Linked DNA regions of Homo sapiens: region 2 is linked to region 1. The links are contacts of gene promoters, found by promoter capture Hi-C in blood cells and fetal thymus (Javierre and others, 2016). All regions are on one chromosome and are shown on one strand. Each heading gives the region's core, a stretch centred on a gene start or on the middle of the fragment in contact. The rest is flanking DNA. Distances are from core to core; before and after follow the strand shown.

Region 1 (6,754 bases), core at 1,892-4,391:
TCATTTTTCTTCTGGGAAGGAGTAATAAAAATCCTGAAGCTTACTTTAACTATGGAATACATACCCTTTACTTCTATAGTTCCTCCAAGTTTTAACTGAGGTTCCCTTTATGTGCTTATACTGATAATGATAACTCTATAGTATTTATCAAATATATAAAAAATAGAATTTGGAAGAATATTCTCATTTATCACTTAGTAAAGGAATTGTTAAATCAAGTTTTTTTTAAAAAACAAACCAAACCACCAGAAACCTACTCAAAATCACACACTCAAACTCTAAATAAATATTTGATTTAAAACATAGAACACCTTATAAGGAGCTCTATTTTCCCTCTAGCTTAAGTCTAGCTTGCTGTGACTGTAGCATTTACATGAGATGATCACTATCTTAGCATCAAAATGGTGACGGTTACAACTGTACTGCTTGCTACTCAATTATCTTGTAAATTGATAATTTTGTACATGTATATCTCTCCATGATGGAAGATCTGTGTTATATACAACCAAAGTTTAGCAAATTAGTTTTTATACTCTAATACTTTAATATGCAATGAATAAAAGGGCAGAAAATTCAGAATTACAATAAATGTTAGGCTATTTCAGAACACCAGTTTTTCACACCTATTTTCTTAGCATACAGAAGCTCGAAAATCATACATTAAGCATAGTTTGAATTGTCCTGAAGTTATATTCTGAAGGGGCTGTAACACTTAAGAACTAATAATATTAAAAAGGCAAAAGCATTATAACTCACAGCACACAAGACTTTTTACCTCATCTATAAAACGTGAGAATGTCAATGTTTTATTGGCTACAAGGATAAGGAAGGAAACATCAGAGAAATAAATTTGATAACAAGATTCACACTTCATTACAAGTGATTTTCCTAAATTCACAACTTTCACATTTGGCTGAGTGAAAGAGAAAAACAAAACAAAACAAAACAAAACTGAAAAGGGAACTTTCACTACTTGTAAGTAGGCCAACTCACATGATCCCTCCAAATGAGAGAGTTTAAATGAGAATGAGTATACTTTTCTAGCTGGGAAAATATTTTCCTTAATTAAGTGAGTTTAAATAATTTACCCATGGTGATGAATAAGCCCTTGGGCTAGGCTCAGAAACCTCCTCTACCAGCCTGTTTCATAAGAATTACACAAATATTTTTATGGGACATACAAGAAATATTTTTTGGTTATAATAGTAGAGACAAGAATTTTTAAAAATCCATACTATTTCTTTCAGGTCTCTCTCTTAAATGCACCTTCTGAGTTTCTTAGGTATGCTGTACAATTACAAAGTCCATTTTACTTAACGGATTAATGTGTTCATCAACTTTAGCACCCTATGATGTATGTGGTCAGAGTAATGAGAACAGGGCTATTTAAACTGCTTCCTCATATCCTTCCCCTTAATTACCAGTAGTGAAGTTTACCTAGAAAACAATGAGGAAGAAGTACCATAGCCTACAGGCACCTAGGGAGGGGGAATTAATTCGGACTGAGAAAATATGGCTCTGGAGAGATACTAAAGTCGTACTGGAAATGTATGAAGTCTAAATGAACCCCTTTCTCCCCAGCTTCAGACTTAGATAAGGTGTGAGGTGTCAGGGATGTGCATGGACCCTTCAAAAACTGACATTTTCATCCGTGTTCTTCCCCCTCACTCCCCCGCGAAACAAAATATACGGAAATACAAGTGCTTGGTACTACATGCTTTTGAGGCTAAATGCCCAATAATAAGCACGCTGTATCCGTTGTTGAGGGGGATCACTTTTTAAGTAAACATCACCAGAAGAATCTCTTCAAATGGAGAATGAAGTCACTCTCCCTCCCTAGAGGCTATGAGGGAAAAGGGGGAGATATTCCCCCTACTTGCACGTGGGATCTCCCTTTCCCCTCCGACCTCGCTACGCCTCTCCCACGCAGGTCAGGCTGCTTTGGGAGGTAGCTGGGAGAAAAGGCAACGCTCAGTCCTCCATGGCAAAGTCTTTGGTCTTCTCCTCCTGGTCTCCCACTTTGTAGCGCAGCAGCACGCGCAGGCGACGGGGGTTGTCCCGGGAGGGCAGCAGCGTGATCTCTCCTGAAACGTCCGTGTCTTGCTCCACTTGCACCGGCTCGTTCAGGTAGAGGAGCGCCTGTTTCCAGTGAGTGGCCGGGTGAAAAGGCGAGGTGGACAGCACCAGGGGTTTCTCCGACTCCCCTCCAGGGAAGGTCACCTGGAACCAGATGGCAAAGCCATGCATGGGCGCCGAGCCATAGCAGCTGCAGCGGAAGCGCCCGCCCACTCCGGCCTCCAGCTCCTGCTCCAAGCCGGCGCGGGAGAGCTCTAGCTGAGCAAAGCGCTGCGGCCGGGCCAGCACGTCCTCGCCGGACAATCCCTGCACAACGATCTCCGAGTGGCCCATGAGACAGCGCGTGGCGAAGCCCTCCAGGCAGCTCATGTCCACACCATAGTGCTGCTTCACCTGGCTCCAGAAGCCCAGGCGCCATTCCAGCATCTGGTCGCTGATGGGGGCTATGAAGAGCTCGGCGGAGGCCGGCAGGAGAAGACCGCCCTCCTTCAGCCACTTGGTTCGCGCGTGGAGGACGGAGCTCAGCATGGACTCGTGCAGGAGTCCGTAGCCCATCCACTCGCTCACGATGGCATCCACCTGTTCCGGCAACTCTACAGTCTCCACTGGTCCCGGCAGGACGTGCACCCGGTCCTCCAGCCCGTTGAACCGCACCACCTCCCGGGCCTGTTGCCAGATGGCGCTGGCCTCTACCGCGTACACGCGCCGGGCCCCGGCCTGGGCACAGAAGATGCTCAGAATGCCGGTGCCCGCGCCCACGTCCAGTACCGTCTTGCCTCGCAGTGCTGCCCAGTTCCGAAGGATACCCAGGCGGTAGGCATCGGTGCGGACGCGGTCCGCGATCATCTCCTCGTGGACCGAAACGTCCGAGTAGCACTCGTAGTACAGCTGGTCCCGTTCCCGCTTAGTCCTCCGGGGTCGCTCCAGGGCCGCCTCCCGCTCCGCGCCATCTTCCTCTTCAGTTCCCTCCCCTCCTTCGCCGCCGCCCCCCGACTCAAGCTTTCTTTTCTTGGGCTGCGACATCTTGGCCGCTCTGCCCGGCTCCCGGCGGGCGTAGCGCGGCACGGCGCGGGCTCCAGGAAACGGGGGCTTCTGGGACTTGTAGTGCGCGCTCGTCCTTCCTACTTCCTGCGGGGTCGCCCGGCCGGCGGCGCGGAAGGTCTCCTGTGCCTGCTCACGGGAGCTGTTTTGTATTGCTCTTCTGGTGTCCTGGCATCCCTTTTCCCACCCACGACGCCCACATTCTGAGATCCTTTCATTCCCCCTCCCACCCTTAGCTCCTCAGTTTTTTGCTTTCACTCCCTTCCTGAAGTAGGCACGCACACTTAAGACTAATAATCCACCTTTGTTTCTTCTGCTGAACTCACCTCTGTTTTTTTTGTTTGTTTTTCTGTTTTTTGTTTTTTTTGAGAGGGAGTTTCGCTCTTGTTTCCCAGGCTGGAGTGCAATGGCGCGATCTCCGCTCACCGCAACCTCCGCCTCCTGGGTTCAAGCGATTCTCCTGCCTCAGCCTCCCGAGTTGCTGGGATTACGGGCGCATGCCACCAGGGCCGGCTAATTTTGTATTTTTGGTAGACGGGGTTTCTCCCTGTTGGTCAGGCTGGTCTCAAACTCGCGACCTCAGGTGATCCGCCCACCTCGGCCTCCCAAAGTGCTGGGATTACAAGCGTGAGCCACCGCGCCCGGCCTAACTCACCTCTGGTTTTATTCCACCGAATTAACATGGCAGCACCATCCACCCACTACCGCCTTAACTGGACAATTGTAGCTCTTAAAGTGCTCCAGCTGTGGCAATTTAGAAACTGCACTACGCATTTCTTTTTTCTGTTTTCAGTGCAGTTAGAGTGCAAATGTAACAAAATTAAAACCTAACAATGCAAAATCTTGGTTCTGATTCCAGTATGACCACTAATTAGTTGAGTGATTTAGGGCAAATAATAGAACTTCTCTGGCCTTTAGTTGCCCATTCACCCACCAGCGAATCTTCATTGCAGTTGGGGAAGAACTAGGTTTCTGGTTCTACTTAGAAGAATAGTTACTTGGCTTTCGGCTCTGCTCTGATAATTCTGTGGCTCTCTTAAGAGTTAAATCCTGAAAAGTGCAGACTCAAGAGCCATGTGATACAAGCAAACTCGTTGCTAGGTGTATTCTATATATATATGCGTTTTTTTCTCTCAGAAATAACGGAATCAATTTCTTTTAATCACTTTCTCAATGCAATTCATTTTTTCCTGTGTTTTCTTGTCCGGGCAATATTGACACTCTCCTCTTTCTCTTATATTTTTCTTGTAGTCAACCATCAGCTGTTACTCTCTTTTTGTTGTCCATAATGGAAATAAAATATGTTTTTAAATATGTGTGGCATCTGTATGGGTGTCCGTGTTATTAACAAGGTGGGCATAATGCCATTTTCTGCCAGCTTGAAAAAAAAGTCACTCAGAGTAAAATGGATTTTTATTTTCTTGTGGTCTTGAATTATGTCCTTGTAACCAATAGGCCTGTATTCCTTGTCTGGGATCAAAGTTCTTTCATCCTATTTTCTCTATTAATCTTTCATTAGCAGAATAGGTTTATTGATATGGCATCCTTAGCTGTACTCTACTTCTAACTCAAGACTCTCCATCCTGGCTGCTTATTAGAATTCTCTAAGGAGCTTTTTAAAAAATACCGATGCCTGGGTCTACCTCAGACCAATTAAATCGGAATCACTCCAGTGGAACCTGGGCTTCTAGTTTTTAAAAGCTCCCCAGGGAATTCTAATGGGCAGCCAGGGTGAGAACAACTGTTTCTCACTAAAATGATCTTAGTTAAATCTTGCTTCGTTATTTTAATTGGGTAAATTGTATTTTTTTCAGTGGCCTGGGCTCAACCATTTAAGGCTAAAAACCTTGAAGTATTTCTTCTCTTTTTCTGCCTTGGTTTAATATCTTATTTTAAGATAATTGAGGCCCAGTGTAGGACATCAGATTAGAGTTGTAAATGTGACCACTTTAATATGTTACTTTTATTAATAGGTTGTTACTTAGTGTATACTTTTGCCATTCTTTCTTTCCTCAAAATGTCACCTTTTCCTTTTAAATACATTCATTCCTTCACCCAATTTTCAATTCACTTCCTTATGGTCTCTTTTAAGAAAATTCTGAATATAAGTTTCACTGGTTCTACCTCCAAAATATATCTTGAATCCATCTGCTTTTCTCCATTTCTATTGTCAACACCCTAGTCTAATCTTCCATATTGACTTGCCTGAAAATTAGTCTCCTAAGGGATCGCTCAGCTTCTAATCTCAACCCTATCTAATCCCTTCTCTACATAGCTGAAAGAATAAGCTTTTATAAAACCCATTGGGCCATGTCATTCTTCAGTAACTTCCCGTGTTAGTTAATGGAACAATTCAGTAACTTCAGGTAACTTCCCATCTCATCTCATACCATTTTTCCCAACTCTTCATTGGGCTCAAGATATACTGGTTTCTAATAACACATTTCTTTCCTGTGTCAGGTCGTCATGCATACTCTTCTGGTGCTGAGAAAATTGTTTTTCTCCTTAGCACTTCACTTTAGTGGCTTCTCATCCTTCATGTCTCAACTTAAATGTTACCTCATGAAAAAGGCCTTTCCTGGCTTCCTTAAATAATATTTTCAAACCCAAGACACTATTTTGTTCCCTCCCAGCATTCATTATTATCTGTATGTATTTAATTAATTTATTTGTTTTCTATACAATATCAACTCCAGGAGACTTGGACTTTTGTATTCCCACTATTGCAGTCCTTAGCACTACAACAGAAGCTGGCACATAGAAAGTGCTCAATAAATAGTCTTGAACAAAGTCTATTGTGGATGTAGAGAGTTTTGCTTCATTAGTTCAATGTGACAATGTGACTTGGTAAACTCTGAGATAGATCCAGATATAGATAGAATGTGGAATGCTCCCAGAAATGAGAATAGTATAAATTTTAAATACTGTTAATGCTTCTAGATAGAATAGTGGTAAGCACCAAACATTATCCCTAGAGCAGATTAAAAAAGGTCTGTGGCACTTTCCTTTCCTGCCCTTTTATTTGATATAGAGAAGGAGTTCTTTACTGATCTTTTGTACCACAGTGAGATGTTTTAAGTAGGAAAGGGACCTAGATCATAGCCCTTCCCTAAGCCGTGCGGCTCAGCAGCAAACCACCTGCATGGGAGAAGAGTTGGAGTTCTGCTGGCAGAGCATTCTTAGTATTTTCATTTCAGCGATCTGCTTGCCACGTCTATTCAATGCTCAAACCCAGTTTTTCAAACAAATGATCTTGAAATTTTAATTTAGTGCAACTTGACCACCATTAAGAAGAAATAATAGATCAGAAAATACTAAATGTGTCAAATGAGTAAAGGTGGGTATTATTTCATAAAACTTGTTTCGTGGCTCACACCTGTAATCCTGGCACTTTGGGAGGCCGAGGCAGGCAGATCACGAGGTCAGAAGTTCGAGACCATCCTGGCCAACATGGTGAAACCCTGTCTCTACTAAAAATACAAAAATTAGCTGGGCATGGTGGCACGCGCCTGTAGTCCCAGCTACTCAGGAAGCTGAGGCAGGAGAATCGCTTGAACCCGGAAGGCAGACGTTGCAGTGAGCAGAGATTGTGCCACTGCACTCCAGCCTGGTGAAAGAGCGAGACTCCGTCTAAAAA
Region 2 (6,754 bases), core at 2,377-4,876, 2.3 Mb after region 1:
GTAGACTAGACAGACATGGCATTGTACATGCAGATGAATATAAGTCTTAAGGAATAACAAGCAGGAAATAAAAATATAAACCTAAGCACTTTGGCCGGGTATGGTGGCTCATGTCTGTAACCCCAGCACTTTGGGAGGCCGAGGTGGGTGGATCACTTGAGGTCAGGAGTTCGAGAGCAGCCTGGCCAACATGATGAAACTCTGTCTCTACTAAAAAAAAAAAAAAAAAAAATACAAAAACTAGCCGTGTGTGGTGGCACGTATCTGTAGTCCCAGCTACTCTCGAAGCTGAGGCAAGAGAATTGCTTGAACCCGGGAGGTGGAGGTTGCAGTGAGCTGAGATGTTGCCATTGCACTCCAGCCTGGGTGACAGAGTGAGACTCTGTAAAATAAGTAAATAAATAAAAATAATAAGCCTAAGTACTTGAATAACCATAATGAACAGAGCTGGCCACCCTAAAAAAGTGACATATTGCCATTTGCCATAAAATGAATGAAACTGGAGGGCACTATGCTAAGTGAAATAAGCCAGGTGTAAAAAGAAAAATATTTCATGATCTCTCACTTATATGTGGAATCTGAAACATAAATCAAATATACAAACATAGAGAAAAGAACAGTGGCTACCTGGGCAGGATTGGGGTGGGACTGTAGCAAATGGGGAAGTGTCGGTCAGAGGATAAAAAGTAGCAGATATGTAGGATGAACAAGATTAGAGACCTAAGGTACAATACAAGGAGTCTAAGTAATAAAATTGTAATGTATATGAGATTCCTGCTATATGAGTAGATTTTGTGGAAATCTGTTGTTTCCACACACACAAAAAAACATAAAATGGGTAACTATTTGAGATAATGCATACATTAATTTGCTTTACTGTAGTAACCCTTTTACTATCTGCATATAATTTGTAAAAAATCATGTTGAACACCTTAAATACGCACAACACTATCTACAAAAGAAAATGACAATAACTTAGAAATTTTAATAAAAAAAGAACAGATCTTTCTACTACATGGACTGCTCATATTGGGAAATTTTTATGGAACGGACATAATGATTTACAAAAGGAAAATCTTAGGAGGTAATATAATCCCCCAGGGCTACTAGCCCTGGGATTATTAGCACACCAGTTCTGAAGGCCAAGGAGAAGTAGAGTAGTAGATGGAGACAATGTTTAACATGAATCTCTTTTCTTTAGTTGAGGAATCCAGCAAGCCTAAGGTGCCCCTGCTGAGAAGGAGTCAGGGAAAAGCCATTGGCCACATTTTACTCCCTTTATTCAATTTCCTACCCAGATTCCAGACTGCAGACCTCCCCCTGCACACACACCCCCCTCCCCTCCTCCCCCCATTCCCCCCCACCCCCCCTCTTCCCCATACCCCCACGCTGTCCCCCATACCCCATCTCCCTGTCCCCCTATCCCCCCACCTCCATCCCCCATCCCGCCTGCCTCCCCGTCTCATCCCCCCACCCCCATCCCCCCACCCCCTGCCTCCCCACCCCCTCCCCCATCCCCCCTCCCCATCCCCCTCCTTCCCCATACCCCACCTCCCCCATCCCCCTCTTCCCCATCCCCCATCCCCCATCTCCCCCCTCCCCCCCCACAAGAAAACAGAAGCAGCAGAATCGCAAGGAGCCATATTCATCAACCATAATAAGTAGAGGAATGGTAAAGGGTGGAGTGTGGATATGGAGAAAAAAGAGTAAAGATTTCCCACATGTTCTGTTCCTTTTGGTCCACAGCACTGGTCTCATCTATTATCTAACTAAAGATAATTTGTCCAAACGAGGAACCACATGTCCCAAAAGCTCTTCTGCTATCATAAGATGTTGTCAATGTGTCATCATTCTTCATGTGAACTTGAAATGTTAGCCATCACAACTGATTTTTCACTAGAGAAAAAGTATTAGGGGCAGGGGACAAAACAAGTAACAGAACTATCATTGTTCCTGTGTCCATAGCAGTTTCTATAGCCTAAGCAGGTAATCATTGCTTGATAGTTTTACAAGATTCCCTATCCTCTGCCAGGCATTCAGCTGAACCTAACTCCAAACATGATGAGTGACCCAAATACACATTCGTGTAGGAAATTAATACAAGTATGATGGTCGATTATGCATTGGGTTGCTGAAGTTTTGCATTGACCAGGAATGTTGAGCAAATGAGAAAAGAGGTGTTGGTAAATCTCCTAATCTCCATCCTTTCCCCTACTTTGTTGTGGTGAGACACTTTCCCCAGGCAGTGGTGTCATAATCAGGAATTCAGCATTAGAGTCAGTTGTGTGAAGATTGAGTCTTCAGCAGTGCTAGATGCTATAACAGCTGTGCAGAGGAAAAAACCATACTAATGATTAAATAGATACCTTTTATGCTTGTGATCATTAGTATTTTGTGAACAACACTGTTAAGCACTGGGAAACTGTGGAGAAAGAGTGTAGTGCAGCTACAGATTGCATTCCCAACTAATATATATATTTTTTGATTTTTACAATTATTAATTTTCAGACAGGCTGTCGCCCAGGCTGAAGTGCAGTGGCCACGCAATTATGGCTCACTGCAGTCTGGACCTCTCAGGCTTGATCAAGCTATATTTCCACCTCAGGCTTCTGAGTAGCTGTGACAACAGGCACATATCACCACGCTTGGCTAATTTTTTTTTTTTTAGCCGGTACGGGGGTTTTTGCCAGGTTTAAGCAATCCCCACACCTCGGCCTCCCAAAGTGCTGGGATTACGGGGGTCAGACACCACGCCCTGTCTCTCAAATTTTTGATAGCTTGCTTTGCAATACAAATCTTCTGGTAGTTTTTATACAGTACAATAATATATTTCACTCTGAGAACATTCAGAGGAGTCCATCTACATAACTCTCCCTTGTAGACAGCGTAACTAATTTTCTGATTTTATTTTATCCAAGTTCTGACCAGCTGGACAACACATGAGAAAACTTCACAAGAATCAATGTAGATTCTTACTACAGACATCTGTCTTTCTCCAACAAATGAACAATCAGATATATCACCCAAAGTTCCAATCTGAAAATATAATTTATCTTCATTATGTTTTCTGGGCCAAGGTAACAAACACTCTGTCTAGATCCATCCATTAAGTAAACTGAACTATTTCTCCTTCCATGAACTGATCATTGGGAATGCTACATGAAGGCAGAGATGTGAGTTGAAAAAGAAATGGGAAAACAATGGAAGGGGTTTTCTTGAGAGTGAGTCACCTGTCTGTGCAGTTTCTTCAGGTGTTCCAAATCATTGAGCGAAGGTTCATATATAATACTTCTATATTAAAAAAATTCTCTACCTGAATTGACTGTAGATCGGAGAACAGACTGATCATAACTGGCAATTCAGGTTACTTTATCACCTAGAGTATTGTGACAGGCATAAAGTTTCAACCAAAACCAATCACAAACCAGGATCTGCTTTTTAAATGGAGAACAGCAGATGCCGTAACTTTGATTTTTCATGTTTGTACTATTATTTTCTCATTGGGAATTTCCAAAAGCCCATACAGTATTTCTGTCTACTAGAGAAACTCACAGTAGTATTCAGCATGCTGAAATTATAGAGCCCAAAGGTAGAACATTCATTGCAGCCAGGAACTAATGTAGAGCTCTGTCGTTCTTGAGGCTCAACTGGAATGTGGAAAATTTATTTTATATTATCTCAATATTAGATAAGTTGGTTAATGAGAGACCATAAAATATGATATGCATTGCCAGCAAGATATGAAGAAGCATACTAAGTATGTGTCCCTTTTCATAGTTTGCTGTTAAACCTACCTTTGACTGCATGTTTCAAATTATTTTTTTTTAATTACGGAATTTCAGTTTATTTTTTAAATTCTAGTTTTTGGCAGAAATCTCCATTTTACCATTTATTACCTGATATTATTACTCATATTTTAAACTTTGTGCCTGATAATGCCAAAAATGTAATATCTGGGATTTCCTTGAGTGTCCTTCTATTGTCATAGGTTGTGATGTTATATTTATCCTTAGAGAATTTATGCACTATTTAATTCATTCATTTTGGTGGCAGAAAGCTAGCCTTGGCAAAAAGACAATATATTTTGATCTTCAATTTATATTAATTAAAGGTGGGCTTCAGTACTTGCTAGAGATAACCAAAATTATTTCTATATATTTTTTCACACAGTGCTTAGTACACAGTGAAAAATGACCTAGTACATAATGAAAAATACCTGACTGGACATCAAAAGAAAAATATGTTGGTAAACGTAAGTAAATAGTGACTATATAACACAACTATAGTAGTAATGTTTTATGTGGTATACAACATAAATAGAATTAAACAACATAAAAACAATAACTCATAATGTGGCAGCAGAGTGTGAATGAAATTTCAAGTTTTCTAGTGCCCTTGCTTTATATGAAAAACAAAAAATATTTCTTTGTTTTAGATGTTAACAGATTAGGGTTGCATGTTGTATTCTGTAGAATAAAACTACAGAATATTTGAAGAATATTTACTTCACTGGAAACAGGATAATTCCATAAACAACTGTTTCAAAATGCAAAGGAAGAGGGTGAAAGAGAGAAAAAAGTATATAAAATAGTTTGAGAAAGTAAAAACAACTAGTGAGATAGTAGATTTAAATCCAAATTGAGAAATAGTTATATTAAGTAAAAAGTGGCTGAATGGTGCATAGTAAGATAGTAGATTTAAATCCAAATTGAGAAATAATTATATTAAATAAAAAGTGGCTTAATGTTTCAACTAATATTACTGCTAAGTGGATAAGAAAATGAAACTTGTAGCTAAGAAGTGACACCCTTCAAATGTCAAGTTGAAATTCTATGAATGAAAACAGAAATATGTGAAAAAATTAGCCAAGAAATGGTGGTGTAGCTATGCTATTACTAAATGAAGAACAATTTAAAGAAAACAGCATTGGTAGAAATAAAATATGAATATTGTATTATAATAGACGAACCTGCCACACATATATACCAGTTCTACAAATGTCAGAGCAAAAGATGATGTAAGAGGGAACAAGTCAGTTATCACAGTGGGATATTTTAATTTACCTTACAGTAACTGATAGAACATACAAAAACAAATCAGCAATGACAGAAGATTTGAATAACAGGATTACCTGACTAGATGGACATATTTACAACATTGCACCCAACACCTGGAGAATATCTAGTTTTTTCAAATGCAATTAGAGCATTTAAAAAAGGACAGTAAATTGCAGGGATTACTATATGCTATAAAAACAAAATGGATAGAAATCAATTTTTAAAGCAAATTTAGTAATCTTTATGTGTGTAGATAACAATAAAAATCTAAGTAACCTATAAGCCTTAGAAGTAATCAAAAATTTTGAACATATTTTAAAATGAAATATATAATTAATATATGATAAATCCTGTGAACTATATGTAAAAATATTTGGGGGCGATTTCTTTTTTCATTAAATGGCTATAGGAGAAAGGGAGGCTGAAAAATTGATGATAAAATCATCTATTAAAATAAAGTAATAACAAATTAAGCCCAACTTTGTTGAAGATGTGACATAATAAAACTAAAAACAGAAATTAGTAAAATAAAATCAAACAACTACAGAGAGAGCAATTAAAGCCAAAATAGTTGGTTCTTTGTAAAAACTAAGAAAGAATTGTATCAGCTCCCAATAACCTAGATCAAGACACATGAGGGATGGTACAAATAATAATTATCAGTGTTACACAAAGACTGTCAATAAAGATTCTACTTTTTAAAAACAAATTAGTCTGGGTGCGGTGGCTCACGCCTGTAATCCCAGCATTTTGAAAGCCTGCAGTGGGTGGATTGCTTGAGCCTAGAAGTTCGAGACCAGCCTGAGCAACATGTTGAGACCCTATCTCCACTAAAAACACAAAAAATTAGCCAGACATTGTGGCATGTGCCCGTAGTCCCAGCGACTCAGAAGTCTGGGGTGGGAGAATCACTTGAGTCTGGGAAGTCAAGGCTGCAGTGAGCCATGATTGTGCCAGTGAACTCCAGCTTGGGTGATGAGAGTGAGACTCTGTCTCTAAATATATAAATAAATAATGAAGTATACATTATGAAAAAAATATGATAATACATTTGAAATGTGGGTAGAACAAACTCTTAAAACTTTGTCTACCATAACTAATATGCACACAAAATATGAAGACCATGTTTACCAAAAAGCAAATTTCTAATTAAAATCCTTAACACAAAGAAAATTCCAGAATCAGGCAGCTTTAACAGAAACAATGAAAGTTCAAACATCAAAATAAGATAAAACACCAATCCAACAAAAATCCTCCCAGGGAGAAGAAAAAAAGTGGGCACTATGATACTTATTTTATAAAAAAAGAATAACCTTGGCACAAAAATTGACAGGCATATTATAAGAAGAAAGAAATAGGCTGGTTTCCTTCAAAAACAAAAAATAATCCTAAACATAAAATCAGCAAATTAAATCTAGCAATACATAAAAATCACTATACCATTCCAAGTTGGAACTATTCCAAAATTATAAGATTATTTTAGTATCCAAGTATCAATGAAGGCATTTAATCACTTTAACAGAATAAAGTAGGGAAAATTATCCAATCATTGAAATAGATGCAAGATAAACAAAAAAATTTAACTTCTGTTCTTTAAGAAATTTCAACAAACAGGAAATAGAAGTTTAGTTTTTAACTTTCGATGAGATTATTTATTAAAAAACTATAAGATTAATCATAGTTAATGAATTATTGAA

The links. The method cuts DNA at HindIII sites, captures the fragments that hold promoters and counts their contacts. A CHiCAGO score of 5 or more calls a contact.
Region 2: a fragment that was not itself captured here is called in contact with the fragment with the promoter of PRMT6 in region 1 in 1 of 17 cell types (total B cells); the score reaches 6.6 in total B cells.

What each region holds. Positions count from the first base shown.
Region 1 is chr1:107,053,061-107,059,814 of GRCh38, reverse strand. PRMT6 (protein arginine methyltransferase 6) reads right to left here and starts at 3,141. Exons shown (of 1, transcript NM_018137.3): 1 at 521-3,141. The coding sequence starts at 3,099. The coding sequence ends at 1,972. RefSeq lists enhancers at 2,340-2,549, 2,560-2,689, 2,700-2,839, 2,860-2,909. The HindIII fragment of the contact is 2,330 bases long and covers 3,078-5,407 here.
Region 2 is chr1:104,752,849-104,759,602 of GRCh38, reverse strand. No RefSeq gene overlaps it. Among named protein-coding and RNA genes, the nearest start is that of LINC01676, 860 kb to the left of the region's middle. The HindIII fragment of the contact is 7,329 bases long and covers 1-6,754 here.